Linked DNA regions of Homo sapiens: region 1 is linked to region 2. Evidence: promoter capture Hi-C in human tissues and cell types (Jung and others, 2019). All regions are on one chromosome and are shown on one strand. Each heading gives the region's core, a stretch centred on a gene start or on the middle of the fragment in contact. The rest is flanking DNA. Distances are from core to core; before and after follow the strand shown. Region 1 overlaps NFATC2 (nuclear factor of activated T cells 2). Region 2 holds the start of KCNG1 (potassium voltage-gated channel modifier subfamily G member 1).

Region 1 (7,463 bases), core at 754-3,253, 510 kb after region 2:
AAAAAGATCCCCTCCTTCCCTTTTCCCTGCCATCTTTTCTCCACTGACGCCTGCTAACAGCTCCCGTCGCACCAGGTATCTGTTTAGGGAATCTCATTCTGCCAAACCAGGTGCAGGCAAACCACAGCCCATGGGCCAAATGCGGCCCATGGGTTGTGTTTGTAAATAGTTTTATGACAACACAGCCAGCCTATTTATTGACACAGGGTGAACAAAGCAAGCTACAGCTTGCTCCTATACTACAACAGCAGAGTTGGTAGTCTGGGAACCGAATGGCCCCCAAAGCCTGAAATATTTACTCCTTGGCCCTTTAGAGAATTTTACAACCCCACACTCGACCCAGAGCTCCGTCAGTGTTGGGCCCGTGTCACTGTGGCCCAGCATTGTCTGCCAAGCACCTACCACAGGGCCTGGCACTTGCAAGCCCCCATAAACATTTGCCGAGTGGCTGAGAGAATAAGTAAATATAAGAACCATGTCCGGGGCCTGCCAGCCAGAAACAAGCCCTCTTCCTGCTTTGGGGGACCCCAGGTGGCCACCCCAGTGAGCCTCAGCCTCCTTGTTCCCTTTCTGGGCTATCCTAGAGGAAATACTGTCCAGTTTAGCCAAGCTGATCTCTTAGGGTCCATATGGTACCCCTACTTCCAAAATGGCTCCCCACAGCTCTTAGGTAAAAATAAATGACCCCCGCCAGGCAGCCTGGCTGGGCCCTGCCTGTGCATCTACCCTCGCCTGCATTCACTCTCTCCCCTCCCTCTCTCTGAACTCCAGCCAAAGGGGAGTGTGGTGATTTTTGTTTTGTTTTTGAGGTCTTACTCAGCTGCCCAGGTTGAAGTGCTGTGGCGCAATAATAGCTCACTGCAGCCTCCACCTCCCAGGCTCAAGCAATCCTCCCACCTCAGCCTCCCAAGTAGCTGGGACTACCAGTGCACACCACCGGGCTCAGCTAATTTTTTTTTATTTTTAGTAGACAGGAGGTCTCACTATGTTGCCCAGGCTAGTCTCCAACTCCTGAGCTCAAGTGATCCTCCCACCTCAGCCTCCCAAAGTGTTGTGATTACAGACGAGAACAACCGTGTCTGGCAAAGGGGAGTTTTTAAAAGCATCAAGCTCCTTCCTGCCCCGGGACCTTGGTACTTGCTGCTCCCCCTGCCTCAACAGCTCCTCCCCTACCCACTGCCAGGCCCCCTTCTCCACAGGACTAAAGCCCATTCATGCCCATGAGCTGGGCTTAAGTACTGCATGCTTCTAGAAGGACCCCTGACCACTTGACTAGCTCAGGCCCCACTCACAGGCCCCTGCTGTGTTCTGTGCACATCTCACCATAACGACTGAGGAACTGTGGAGTGCTCCGTTTCCCTCGACCTCCAGTCTGCCCTTCCCTCGACCTCGAGATCCACCCCCACCAATCAGCAAATGCCATGAGGACTCTTGCTCCGCCATGCCCCTAAGCACTTGGAATGGTCCTGCCACTAAACAGGCCCTCAGAAAGGATGTGTTGGCTGAATGAATGAGGCAAGTTCAGAAAAGTCTACCTGGAATAAACTATTACTCAAAGATGCTAATATCCAAACCAAAAGATAGAAGGCTATAACTCTAGAGAGGGTCATTTTGTAATATCCATGAAAATTCCAAACACACGTGCCCCCGGAACCACATGTGCCCTCGGAACCAAGCAATGCTACTTTTAGAAATTCATCCTGGGCCAGTCATGGTGGCTCACACCTGGAATCCCAACCGTTTGGGAGACAGAGGTAGGAAGATTGCTTGAGGTCAGGAGTTTAAGACCAGCCTGGGCAACGTAGAGACCCCATCTCTAAAACAAAAATTTTTTTTTCATTAGCTGGGCATGGTGGCACCTACCTGTAGTCCCAGCCACTGGAGAAGCTGAGGTGGGAGGATCAAGGCTGTAGTGAGCCATGATCGTACCACCACCTCCCAGCTTGGGTGACAGGATGAGAACCTGTCCCAAAAAAAAAAAAAAAAAAAAATTCTTCCTGCAGATATACTCTCACCTGTGCAAAATGACCTGTGTATGCTTAAGATTCATTACTACAACCCTGACTGTAATCCCAAAAGACTGGAAGCAACCCAAAGCCCATCTATTGGGGATGAATTAATTCTGGCTCATTCATATGATGGGATACAGTATAGCTACAAAAAGGCCTGAAGAAGTTCTTTATGCATTGACATGGAATGACCACTGAGATTTAGTATTAGAGAAAAGCAAGCTGTATAGTGTGCACAGCATAAAAAGTGAGAGGATGTACACAAACACAGAGAGATGTACACACAATGTACACAGACAGATGTACACACAGATGTATACAGATTACACCTGCACATATATACACAGATGTACAGATGTACACGCACAGACAGATGTACACACACATATGTACACACACAGACAGATGTACACGCACAGCTGAAGGATGCACAGGCTTTCTCTGGAAGTCACAAGTAATAGTGACATCCTCCAGGGAGGGGAACTAAGGAATGGGAGGACAGTGGCATGGCAGAAAGGAGACTTCCTTTGATTTGTGTAATTGTGTAAGAAAATAAATGTAACTCCCAAAAGAAACATTTTTAATTTTATTTCATAGGTGGTAGGTGACATAGCATGATATACAGTAATGAAACCCTGTTTTACGAAGCAGGAAATGAAGAGTGCAGTCCTGCTCCGCCACTAAGTAGCAGCGTGACTTTGGAAAAGTCCCCCACCCACTGGAGGCCTCAACACCTTCTCATTTATAACTGAACAGCATTAAACTGAATCAGTTTCCTTGGTGGCTTCTGGCTCTGAAATCCTTTGATTTTTCTAGCTAGCATCTGTAAGGCCTGGAGTTCTTGTGAGGCTGTAGTTTAATGTAAATGTGTATTTGAATTCGCACATACACACACACACGCCTTCCTAGAAGGTAACAGAGCACAGAGTTTTAATCTAGGAAAAGAGGAATGTCAAACCCATGGCCGACAACATTCTGAGAATTCACTGCCCTTCGAACCAGAAAAACAAAACACAAAAAGTTTCTTAGCAAAAATTCCGGCCGTATCAGAAGAACTGCACTGTATCTTATCAGAAACACACCCTTGGGGCTGATGTGCACAGTCCACAGAAACGCAGTCCTGAAAACACACATCACTCACACTCCCTAGGAGCTCTGAAAAACAGAAAGCTCCAGTGTGCTGAGCAAAAGTATTTAAAGCATTTACATTGGTTTTCATTAATCCAAGCGGCAGTTTTTTTTTTTTCCTCTTGACAAGACTTTAAATGTTTACCAGCAAGCAGGGAATATGAAGATAATTAATAATCATTTAATTCTCAGTCCCCTGGGTATTTGACAGTAAATTTCACAAATAGCACATCATTAAAATATTTCTCTAAGTCAGTGGCTGAGATTCGTCACTATTTCTCCTTAAACAACTGCCACGCTCACAGGCGGCTTTCTTACAGTCATCACGATGCCCGCACGGCACTGGGTGAAGTTAGTTTCATCTCAGAACCACCAAATGTTCTCAGGAGGATTTCCAAAAAGCTTGCTTTTTTTTTAACCACTTGCACGATCTTTGCTCTATCCATGTGCCACCAAAAAGTATTTACTTAATACTTCTAGTATTTAAATTCACTCACTTATTTTTTTTTTATTTTAAAAGGAAACTTTACACCACTACTGCAGATGGAAAATCAATGTCACCTCCATAAATAGAAGGTAGGGTAAAAATACAATAAAAATAAAACTTACTAAATTCAAGCAAGACACAGTGGCTGGGCAAAGGCTCTGAGTCTGAGGCTTTATACAGCCCCGCCCCCGCCAATGCTTCTGCGGTATAACTCATATACACAGATGTCAGTGTTTTGAGTATAGAGTTTGACGAGTTTTGCCAAATGTCATACATTCTTGCTACCACCAACATAATCAAAATATGGAACATTTCCAAGACCCCAGAAAGTCAAGACCTAGGAACAGGGAAAGGGAGGAGCCAGTGTTAGAAAGAAAGGTGTCAATGGTACAGCAGTACCTCACTGAAGCGCTACTCCTTTTTTGTTTGTTTGTTTTTTGTTTTTTGAGACAGAGTCTTGCTCTGTTGCCAGGCTGGAGTACAGTGGTGCGATCTCGACTCACTGCAACCTCCGCCTCCCGGGTTCAAGCGATTCTCCTGCCTCAGCCTCCTGAGTAGCTGGGATTACAGGTGACCACTACCATGCCCGGCTAATTTTTTTGTGTTTTCAGTAGAGACAGGGTTTCACCATGTTGGTCAGGCTAGTCTCGAACTCCTGACCTCAAGTGATCTGCCCACCTCGGCCTGCCAAAGTGCTGGGATTACAGGCATTAGCCACCATGCCTGGCCTGAAACTCCACTCCTTCTGACTAGTTCAAAGAGAAAATAGCGCTGAAAAATAGTTCTTAGCACATACAACGTCCTCACTGGTGGACCACCTAAAATCCATTTCACCTACCATGGGAGGTACCTGGCCTGCATACGAAGCATCAGTACCAAAGGGAGGAAGAAGATAGAAGCAGGGATGGGGGATTCAGAGGTTGCTGCTCAAGGGCCTCTGTACCTCCATGTCACGCACATGCTGTTCCCCTTACCCAGAACTCCCTTCCATACCTCCCGACCTTACATCTCCTAACAAGCCACTATTTATCCATCATGACTTGACCTGAGCCACCCCCTCCTGGAGGCCCTCCCTGTTTCCCCAGGCTGGATCAGGCAGCTCTTCTACACTCCCAGGTCCCACAGAGTCCCACATTGAAGTCTATCTATGGATTCACTCGTCTGTCTACCCTCTAGACTCTGAGGTTCTTAGAGGCAGATAGGAGTCTTACATCAATAATTATTATGAAGATGATTATAATGCAGAAAAAGCAGCTAAAATATATTGAGAACTTACATGCTAGGCATTGTTATAAGCACATTACATGTAGTAAATTACTTGATCCTCACAGCCACCTACCCACTGGATGCCAATAGCAGCTGCCCTGTCCCTCTCCCCGTTGTGGCAACCAAAAATGTCTCCAGGCATCGCCAAACATCTCCTGCCAGGCAGGCTCGCCCCCAGCTGAGAACCACGGCTCCTGGCTTTAGAGCCCCAGCATGGCACAGGAGGCCTGCGCACAGCAGAGGCCCAAAGACTGCTGGAAGCATCAACTCATGACTCACGCCCTCAACCTGAACTGATTCAGAAATGAGACATCTTCTCACTCTCAGCCCTGGCAGGTGACGCTCATCTCTGTGGCAGACACCTGAAAGTTCTCATTCTTATCACCCCTCCTTTCATCAAGTTCCTGGGTGCTTACCCAATAGGTAGGCCCTGTGAATATGTGGAGAAATCTCTGGCCACTCCCAAAAACTACAGGACAAGATTGCTGGGGAGGCCAGTTCAGCCCTCCTCTTTGCCCCACCAAGCAAGAGCTCTACGCTGAGATCCAGGTCTCAGTCAACAGAGGGTAGCACGGGGTTAGGGGACTCCAGATCCACTCCCACCCCCGGCTGTGAGACTTGGGGAAACTCCATGTCCTCATGTGTGACACGGGGTGATGACACTGGTGATGATACAAGCCTGTCGGTTTCCCTAACCTATGCAAAGCCCAAGACACACAGAATCAATACCCAGTAAATGGGGCCTACTGGATTATTATTGAAAGAACAATCTTTTCGGTGACAATTCTGCCCTTTCCCTGCTATAGTTAGTCTATTTTACAACAACTTGAACGCACTAGTCCCCAACCCCTTCGAAAGCATTACGAAAAAAAGGAAGACATTTTTATAAAAATAAAATGGGTTGGTCAGCACTTTAGGAATTCTCTTTTTACCTCAGATCCTGCTGACCTTCAGAAAATGTGTGGAGGAGGTAAAACGTGCTTCCAACACCCTCTCCATTCCACACTTTGTACTTTTCCTCCCAGGCTACCTGGCAGTGGATCGACTAAATCTTACTAAAGTGTTAGTGGGTCAGTGAGCCGCTTGTCATAATCAAAATACTAGCACATCTATACCACTTACTTTATATCGAGAACTGTACGCATCTAGTGTATGTTCATATTTGTCTCACAAGAACCCTATGAAGCAGCTGATATCGTTTCCCCATTTTATATAGGGGGAAAATGAGGCTCAGAGAGGGTGAGTAATTTGCCCAAGGTCACACAGCTTCTAAGTAGCAGAGCCAAGATTCATTCTCAGGCAACCTGGCTCCTCCACCCCCCTAACCACTACTTTATCCTGCATCTCAGGAAAGAGGTGATTTCCTGGATGGCGACACCCTGACCCTGACACAGGGAAGCAAGGATCCCCCCCGGAAAAGAAATCACTCTGGGGGCCTCATCATTTCACTCGGGAGGTGGGCTGCCCCTGACAACTGAAGACACAGATTCCTTTCTTCGGGAATGTTCACAGTCTCTCCTTTTGCCCCAGGATTGAGTCAAAGATTATTTTAAAAATCCACTCAGGCCACACAGTGGTCCCCGCCAGCGCCTCTCCCCCTGGAAGCTCTGTGAGCCTGTTGCTCACCCTCGCAGACGGACACACAGCCAAGTCTGAGGTGGCCGCTCGCTCAGCGCCAACCCGCCAGCCAACAGATCACTTTTGAAAAAAGGAACAGCAAGAGAACATCTTCTCTGCCTAGAACTGCAGGCGGGTGGAATTTTCGGGAAGCAGAATCGTATGACCAAAATAGAAACCCAGCTAGGGAACCTCTGAGAGGCAGCCGTCCTTGGGGGGCACAGGGAGGGGCAGAGGCAAATGGAGCTTTCAGGCTTGAGTGGCTGGGAAGAGAGAAGCAGGGCCTGGCCTGGGGGCTGGATGCCCCTCCGATGGGCAGCAGGGCCACAGGGCTCCACTGATCCCTGGCCAAGCTGATCCGACCCACGGCTTGATGAGCTCACCCCGATGCCGAGGTGGCGTGAGTCCCAGGGCCTGGGTTTGGGACATGACAGTCTGTCGCCAAGGCAGCACTTAGGATGCCACAGCTGGCACCGCAGATCTGTAGCCGGAGGAAAGGGGAGCAGACAGAGAGGCAAACCTCGCCTCCTGCCACTCGCCCCGACAACTCTCATAACTTCCTGCCCATCAGGGGCCACAAAGAATCCCAAAACAGAGCAGGAAGGTGGACAGATTCTTCATCCGGCAGGTGTGCACAACCTAGAGAAAGAACCCCTTTGAAAAGCAATGGGTTGCCTCCAAATAACAAATCTGACACTCAGCAAACTTTCTGACAAGCCCCCAGACCACTGCTGCCCACGCCCCACCCAGTCACACACATACACCACCTAACAGTAAGTAGATTCTCAATCAATGAATCATGTGTATTAATGACCAGAGTCAGGTTGTCACACCCTTCGTTCGGAGGTGACACATACAGACACAGGCCTGAAAGTCGAGAAATTCCATCTGGATAAATCAGGTCCAGAAATGCCAAAAAGGAAAGGGAGGACATTTGCCATCCTGTCTCGTCCATG
Region 2 (7,679 bases), core at 4,204-6,703:
CCCAGTCGGAATGTCTGAAGGGGAGGCCCAGGAATGAGCATGTTCACAGGCTCTCATGGAGATTCTGTGTGAGAGAGGGGACCGGGAATGCCTGGAGTTCTCCCAGGGGCTGGAGGCACAGGAGCTGCTCTGGGCTTTCACCTGGACTCCCCTGCCCAACGTGTCAATCTCCTAGAGGCTCTGGAAGGCTGTGAGTCCCGCTTCATTGGAGAAATGAAATCCCTTCTGGTTCGTGAGAAAAATCTTCTGCGTTGGGGCTGCCTTGATCAAATTTCCATTCAGGAGCCCAGAGATCCACTGACACTCTCCTCGCAATTTTTCTATCTTTCCTTTGAGGAAAAGGTGATGCTTATAAGCTATGGCTGAGGGCTGAGAACATACTTCCAAAGATAAATGATCATTGAGATCATAAGGCGTTCTGAGTGGCAGTTCTCACGTGACCACCCTGAGGTCAGCACATGACTGAGGGTACAGGTGCGGGACCTGTGGGGTGGGATTTGGGAGGGCGGAATGGGATGGAGTGAAGGTCCAAGCCAGGCATGGCTAGTCGTCCCTGCTGCTCCTGCTAATAACCCTGTGGCCTGGGCAGGCCATCACACCCACTGAGCCGCTGGCCTCTCTGAGCCTGCCTCCTCCCCTAGAAGATGGGGATAAGATTGCTGACCTCACGGGGCTATTATGGGGATCTGGTGAACGGAGGTTTGCTGCAGGGATGAGCAGTGTCACTGGGCCTCCTGTCCCCATGGCTACATTCCATCAGGGGCATGAAATGGTTCTACAGATGGTCCTGGGCTGACCCCAACTGCTTTCAGGTCTCTCTCCGGGGTTCCAACAAGCTGCGGGCCTCTCTGGACCCTGTTCTTTCTGTCTTATGCTCTCCGTCCCTCTTCCGAGTGGCAGCGGGGAATGCAGAGAGAGCGCTAACTGCACAAAGTGTTATAAATAGCAGCAACCACAGCCTCCCTCCACTGCAAACTCACTAAGTGCCAGGTGCTGTGCTAGGAGCCTTCATTGCCTGAGTCTCCATCCTTTCCTAAAAAGGTGGGCATTATCACTAATACCCCCATTTTACAAATGAAGAAACTGAGGCTCTGAGAAGTGAAAACTTATGTCTGGCAATAAGCGACAAAGCCAGAATTAAACTAGATCTGTGGGACTCCAGGCCGAACCTCTTTGACCCCTGCCTTTTACTGCCTCCTTGAACCACTTGTTCCTTTCGGGGAGCTGGTGTGGTGTCTCCACCCCTTGCAGTGAGTCAGGGACTGGGTTTCTAGTCTCTATTTCATATGGACGAGATTTTGGAATGTTTCTGAGGATGGGGAGAAGCAGGCAATTGTCCATGGCTGGGGAAACATATTTATCACTATTTATATTTGCAAGTGAGCAGAGTTAAAAAAAATCAACAAAACCCCTAGTTTTGCCAAACTCAGGGTTGCCATTTTGGCCTCTGGGAAGGAGATGTTGACGATGGAGGCAGAGGGTGGAGTCGTCTCCAGAAGCCCTGCTGATACCTTGATTTTGGCCCAGTGAGTCATTTGGTCTTCTGATCTCCAAAAACTATGAGATAATAAATTCAGGCTGGGCGCAGGGGCTTACGCCTGGAATCCTAGCACTTTGGGAGGCCAAGGTGAGAGAACTGCTTGAGTTCCAGAGTTCAAGGCCAGCCTGGGCAACATAGTGAGACCCTGTTTCTACAATTAAAAAATAATCAGCTGAGCATGGTGGTGTGTACCTCTAGTCCCAGTGACTCAGGAGGCTGAGGTGGGAGGATCACTTGAGCCCAGGAGGTCAAGGCTGTGGTGGGCCATGATAGTGACACTGCACTCCAGCTGGGTGATAGAGCAAGACCCTGTCTTCAAAAATAATAATAATAATAATAATAAATTTATATTGCTTTAAGCCACTAAATGTGTGCAAGTATGTGAAAGGAGGAAATTAACACAGCTTCCAAGGCAACTTTCCAGAAGGAAAGCATTTCTCTCCTGTACTCTGCAGGCTTTGGTTTCTCTCTCTCGTACCATGCCTCTCAACCTGTGCCATTCCCTCACTCCCAGTGGGTGTCTCGGGGACCCGTCCGTCTCTCTCCATGCCACTCTTTCCCAGGCCCTGCAGCGTTTCACTGCCAGTATAGCTTCATCTGTCAGGATTAGGGCTTCTGGCCGAGCCGACTCAGAGGCGGGTCAGGCTGCATTAATCCCCAATTAAAACGTTAATCAAAATGGATCCAACCATTAGCCTGGCCCGGGTCCTGGCATGTTAGATTTCCAAGAGCTGCTGTGCCCTGGTGGAGAATATATCTTTCTTAGCCACCTGCTGTCTGTTCTCGCCACAGTCCCACCACCCTGGGCCTTGGCCCAGCCTCCTGAAAGCTGGGGCCCAAGTTCCTGGGGAGATTGTGTGCTGGGAGCTAGGCTCTTCCCTCCATCCCTCCCTTGCCCCCAAATGAGAAAAAGTGCCAGTGTCCCTCCCCCCTATAAAAAAGACAGGCTGCCTCGGGAGCCTCCCTGCTGTGCTGCAGGCAAGCAAAATAACACCAAATGCACGTTTGCGTTTGCCTTCTTCTACGGGGAGGTGTTTGGGGACTGGAGCCAGAAGATCCTTTTCTCTTTGCCTCCTTGTAGCTCAAAATTAAGCAGAGAAGCAGGCTTGGGGGAGCAGTGGGGACCTCAGGACGGCAGGAAGGGAGACACCTGCTTACCAGAGTCCTCTGGAGGGAGAGCATGATCGGACCTGCCCGGGGAGGTGTGGGTATGAGAGTGAAGACTCACCTCAGGGCAACGGACAGTCTTAGGCACAATTCAGATCCTATTTGTAGCAAAGTCACTTCATTTCTGATTTCGTTAATCAAATACAGTCTGCTGGATGATAAAAATGGTCCACAGCAATGGAGTGCTTCAGCTAGGTTCTTCGCCTCTCCCTTTTTATTAATTCTATTTAGAGGGGCTTTACCAGCTGCCATTTTTCACCCACAGGCTCCATTTCTGGGCTTAATGCAACAACCAAGGGTAGATTCCTGTACCCCTAGACCTCTGGCAACAGGCAATGTTGACTCTTCATCAACATTGGAAAGCAGGGTGGAGAAAGGACAGCCGAGCCAAGGTACCTACTGCGGCTCCAGGAGGTGAGTTCCTCGGAGCTGGTTTGCGTCGCTTAGCCCTGCATCCAGCACACATCTCTTTGTTCTTCTGTTTCCTGAGGCACCTCCCTCACCTCTTGCCAGAGCCCAGCTGTGGGTCTGGTGCAGAGAATTCAAAGTGGTGCTCAGATCTGCCCCAATCAGGCTCCAGGACAAGCTTCGGGAAAGTCTTTGGGGATGGGGAGAAGCAAGTAACCTCTGCCTCCCATGTCACATCTCCCTCCCAGAGGCCAAAAAGGCAACCCAGAGTTTGGCAAAACTAGGGGTTTGGTTGATTTTTTTACTCCCAAGGTTTGACAACCCAGGCTGTAGGCTGCGGGCCTGGGCTCTCAAGTCTCAGGAGAAGAACCTAGGTTGCCTCGTTTCCAGTGTGCTTGCAGTTCCCTGCAGGTTAGGAGTGTGTCCCAGGACAGACATCTTTCCCGTGGAACGGGCTGGCTTCGAGAATGACTGAGGAGGGTGATCCCCAGGGGCCAGCGCTTGCCTGTTTTTCAAACACACCTTCCCTCCTTCCCCTCCTATCAGGCGACTCTGCAGGGCTCCAAAAGCCGGGGGAGGCACAAATAGAGCTCAGGTCTGGCAGAGCCTGAAAAATCCCCCAAAGAAGGACAGCATGCCCTAGCCACAGTGCCGACCGCAAGGCCCCAATCAGCAGTGCCAAACTTTTCTTGGAGATGTGCTGCCGGTGAGGCTCTTCATAGGGACTCTGCCATCATGGGTATGGGGGTATCAAACACACACTAATGAATAAACCTCTGCTCAGATTCATAGGGCAGGAACTTCCCCCACCCCACAATGAATCAGACCAGTTCCTGCTCCCTCCTCTTACTTCCCCCTGTACTTATCTCAGGGAGTCAGCAAAGGGGGTGGGGGCGTCTGTGTCTGTCTCCCTCTTCTATGTGTCTGTCATTTACCTGGGTAACTTTGGTGCCTGGCACCCTTTAAGTGCTTAATAACAGCGAGTGCTTAAGAAAATGCCTGCTGAATGGACAACCTAACTCATAAACCCCATTGGTGGGAACCTGCATTCCTCAGTAATGTCGGATCAGTGTTTCTCAACTCCTCCCCACCCTACCCCATCACCCGCCCCTAAGGAGCTTTGAAAAGATCTTTTCTTCCTATTCTAGAACCAATTCCAGCTTCCACACCTCCCACCTTGAGAAGGAATGCATTAGATGAACCAAGACTTCTGCCTATATACATGGGCTGCTACAGTTGGCCACCCCGGCAGTCTGCGGCCTCCCAAGCGGGGGCCTGGGTCTTAATCCTTACTTCTCTCTAAGCTGCATGAAGGGTGCCCCCATTCCATCCCTCTTCACTTCTCCCCAGCATAGCGCCTCCATAAATGTTTGTGAACTGGATGAATGACTGTTGAGCGCTTGGTATGATGAGCTGCTTACAATAGGTGCTCAACCAATCTTTGTCCAATCTATGAATGAATGAATGAACTTCACCCTTTTCCTTCCATACCTCCGGGCTGAGCCTCTCTCCCACATGGAAACCCTAAGGCTGAGACCACCACCTTCCTACCAGTTCCTGGGGGTGCCCAGTGAACTGTCTCAGTATCCCCAGTGCCTAGCACACAGTAGGCGCTCAATAAACGCTTGCTGTGTTCATAATGAATGACTCAATCAGGCCCACGGTGGGGGTGAAGGGGGGCTCCATACTGTGCCTAAGGATACAGTGAATGAGCAAGTGACACACACTCCCCCACCCCAATCCCTAACTCTCCTTCCTCCCAGGATCGGGGGAGAAACCTCGGCCCACAGCCGGGATGCGCCCCCGCCGGGGTCACCGCGGCGGCGAACGTCCCGGACTTCGCATCCCGGTGACCCCTTGGGATGAACCGAAGCCGGACCCGCACCTTGGCCGTAACAAGCGCGCTCCACGCCGCCACGCACCAGCGGTGACTCCCGAGTCCTCTGTCGCCCTGGCCTCCCCGCAGGCGGGTTTCGAGGCCCCCGCAGGGAGTTCAGGGCCACGGCCACGTGCAGCCGCCCCCGAGCCCGAGTTTGCAGGCTCGGGGTCCGGTTCGCGCTTCGGTGGCGCCCGGCGAGGCTGCAGCGCGCAAAGTTCCCACCTCAAGTTCCCGTCGCGGCGTCCCCGCCTCGGAGTTGGCCCGGCCGCGGCTTCCGTTCCCCCCGGCTGCCCACGGGTCCGGGGCGAGGACGCGAGAGGGGCCTGGAAGTCGCCCGGGGAGCCCGCTCTGCCTCCCGGAGCCGCCGCCAAACTTCGGTCCCGGGGCCCGGCTCAGCTCCCGCCCTCGGAGCCACGGCCGCCCCGTCTCTGCCTCCCGGTCCCCGCCGGGCTCCGAGTGCGCCGGGAGCGCGGCGCAGCAGCCGCCGAGGGAGGGAGCGAGGCAGGAGGCGGGACGGAGGGAGGGGACTGAGCGCGGGGCGGGGAGAAGGGGCGGGCAGCCGAAAGCGCAGCGCCTGGCCTCGCCTCGCTTCGGGACAGTGGCAGCGGCGCCACCGTCACGGGGCGTCCAGGCGCCCAATCGGGACCCCGCACCTTGGATCCGGGGGCCCTGGCGCGCCTGCTGGATTGCGCTCCTCGCGGCCAGTTCCTGAGCCCGCGTCCGGGACTGCTCGCGCTACGCCCTCCCTCCCGTTGCCTTCTTCCCCGTCTGCTCTCCCAGGAGCGACCACCCTGCGGCCCCTTCGCCTGCACGCGACAGCCTTCAAGGTCCCCGCGCTCCGCTGCCCTGGAGCTTCACGCACCAGGCGGCGCGGCAGCCTCCTAGGGTCGCGCGCCCTGTCAGCTTTCCCCGCGGTGCAAGTGCTCCGGTGGTCCCGGGTCCGCGCCCCTAGCAGCACCGCCCCAGGGTCTACATGTGCTAGATATTAAAACCCCACTCTCCGCTGCCCCGGGGCCGCGCTCCACGCGCTTACACATCCTGGGAACCACATGCGCCATGTCTCCTGCCTTTCCCTGGAAGTCCTGGAAGTCCAAGTGCACTGCTGCCTCTGGGTCCCTCGCCCCCCTACCCCGGGCAAATACTGCATCCTTGAGGCCCTCCACGCGCTGCTGCCCTGGAGCCGAACGCTCCAAGCAAGCTTCCACATCCTGGGGGCCATATATCGCGCGCCTTTTCTCGACCTCCTAGACCAATGTTGCCCTTGGGCCCTTCCTGCCACCGCCACCCAGGGACTGCCAGCATCTTGCTGTGCCAAATTCCTAGGGCCAGTACGTACCGTGCCAGGTGTTTTCCCTTCCAGTCCCGCGGGGCCGAGGCCCCAGAGCCCTCCCGGGCTAGCAGAGCCGCACTTCGTCGTCCACTCCCCTGGCCGGTGCAGGGCACTTGGACCAGGTCCTGGGGTCTTGCTCCCAGTGTGGCCGCCTAGCCTCGGAGTTGGTAGGATGCTGCACAGATGCTGGAGGTTGGGTTGGAGGGATCTATTGGGTTGGAGGAATCTACTGAGTTGGAGGGACCTATTGGTTTGGAGGGATCTGTGCTGCTGGCAGGGCTGGCCTCTTAGGGTGGCTTGCCTTGCACTCCGTTCCTCTTCTCCTTTCTGTCTCTTGCACTCCGTTCCTCTTCTCCTTTCTGTCTCTTGCACTCCGTTCCTCTTTTCCTTTCTGTCTCTACTGCCTTTGCCTATCATCAGAGAACCAAGAAAGGACATGAAGAAACCCTGCTGCCGACCAGCCTGAGGCCTTCTGCTTGAGTGGGGCTCGGGTTGGGGAGTCGTGGGTGCTCATTAAGTGGGTTAGGGTTAACCCTAAGAAATGAGCGCAGGGCACACTAGCCTGCGCGGCAGTCCCAGCCGGGTGGAGCATAGGAGTTCCAGGTTATAGTGCACTATGATGGCACCACTGCAATCCAGCCTGCGTGACTGAGCGAGATCCAGCCTCTAAAACAACAAGAATAAAAACACTGGCTTACTGGTGAGGTGGAGGCCTGGACAGACAAGGATCTGCCTAAGGACCTGTTTCCAAGAGCTCACCTTCTACTGGGGGCTTGGCAGAATTGGGAAACTGCTGAAATACGTGATTGCAGAATGAAGCCAGAGAGGCCACTTTAGATAGAATAATGGGGGAGGGCTCCTGTGGAGGTGATGGTTACATGGAGCCCTGAGCCAGAAGGAGCCCATCTGGCAAGATGGGAAGAGAGCTTTCTAGGTGGACAGAACATCAAAGGCACTGGCCTTCAAGCAGGAGAGAAGGAGGCATGTCTGAGAAACATCAAAGAGACCAACCAGCAGTGTGGGGGAGGGGCCTGAGTGGGGTGGGGTGGGCTTTTGTTGTCAGAGGGTCCCTGGATTACATATTGAGAAACACTCCTCTTGTGGTGGATCAGGCTTCTGCCTTCCTTTCCCATCTGAAATTTTTTTTTTTTTTTTTTTTTTTGAGACATAGTCTCTCTGTGTCTCCCAGGCTGGAGTGCAGTGGTGTGATCTCAGCTCACTGCAACTTCCATCCCCCTGGGTTCAAGCGATTCTCCTGCCTCAGCCTCCTGAGTAGCTGGGACTACAGGTGTGTGCCACCATGCCCAGCTAATTTTTGTATTTTTAGTAGAGACGGAGTCTCACCATGTTAGCCA

Evidence for each region. The method cuts DNA at HindIII sites, captures the fragments that hold promoters and counts their contacts. A contact is called where the count stands out against the background at its distance.
Region 1: a fragment that was not itself captured here is called in contact with the fragment with the promoter of KCNG1 in region 2 in 2 of the 25 tissues and cell types used here (IMR-90 fibroblasts and lymphoblastoid cells).

Annotation. Positions count from the first base shown.
Region 1 is chr20:51,526,116-51,533,578 of GRCh38, forward strand. The region is part of intron 1 of NFATC2 (nuclear factor of activated T cells 2); the gene reads right to left. Among named protein-coding and RNA genes, the nearest start is that of NFATC2, 13 kb to the right of the region's middle. RefSeq lists enhancers at 5,096-5,145, 5,186-5,355, 6,787-7,463. The HindIII fragment of the contact is 7,486 bases long and covers 1-5,746 here.
Region 2 is chr20:51,017,654-51,025,332 of GRCh38, forward strand. KCNG1 (potassium voltage-gated channel modifier subfamily G member 1) reads right to left here and starts at 5,454. Exons shown (of 3, transcript NM_002237.4): 1 at 5,217-5,454. RefSeq lists an enhancer at 3,095-3,658 and a silencer at 5,383-5,552. The HindIII fragment of the contact is 10,697 bases long and covers 1-7,588 here.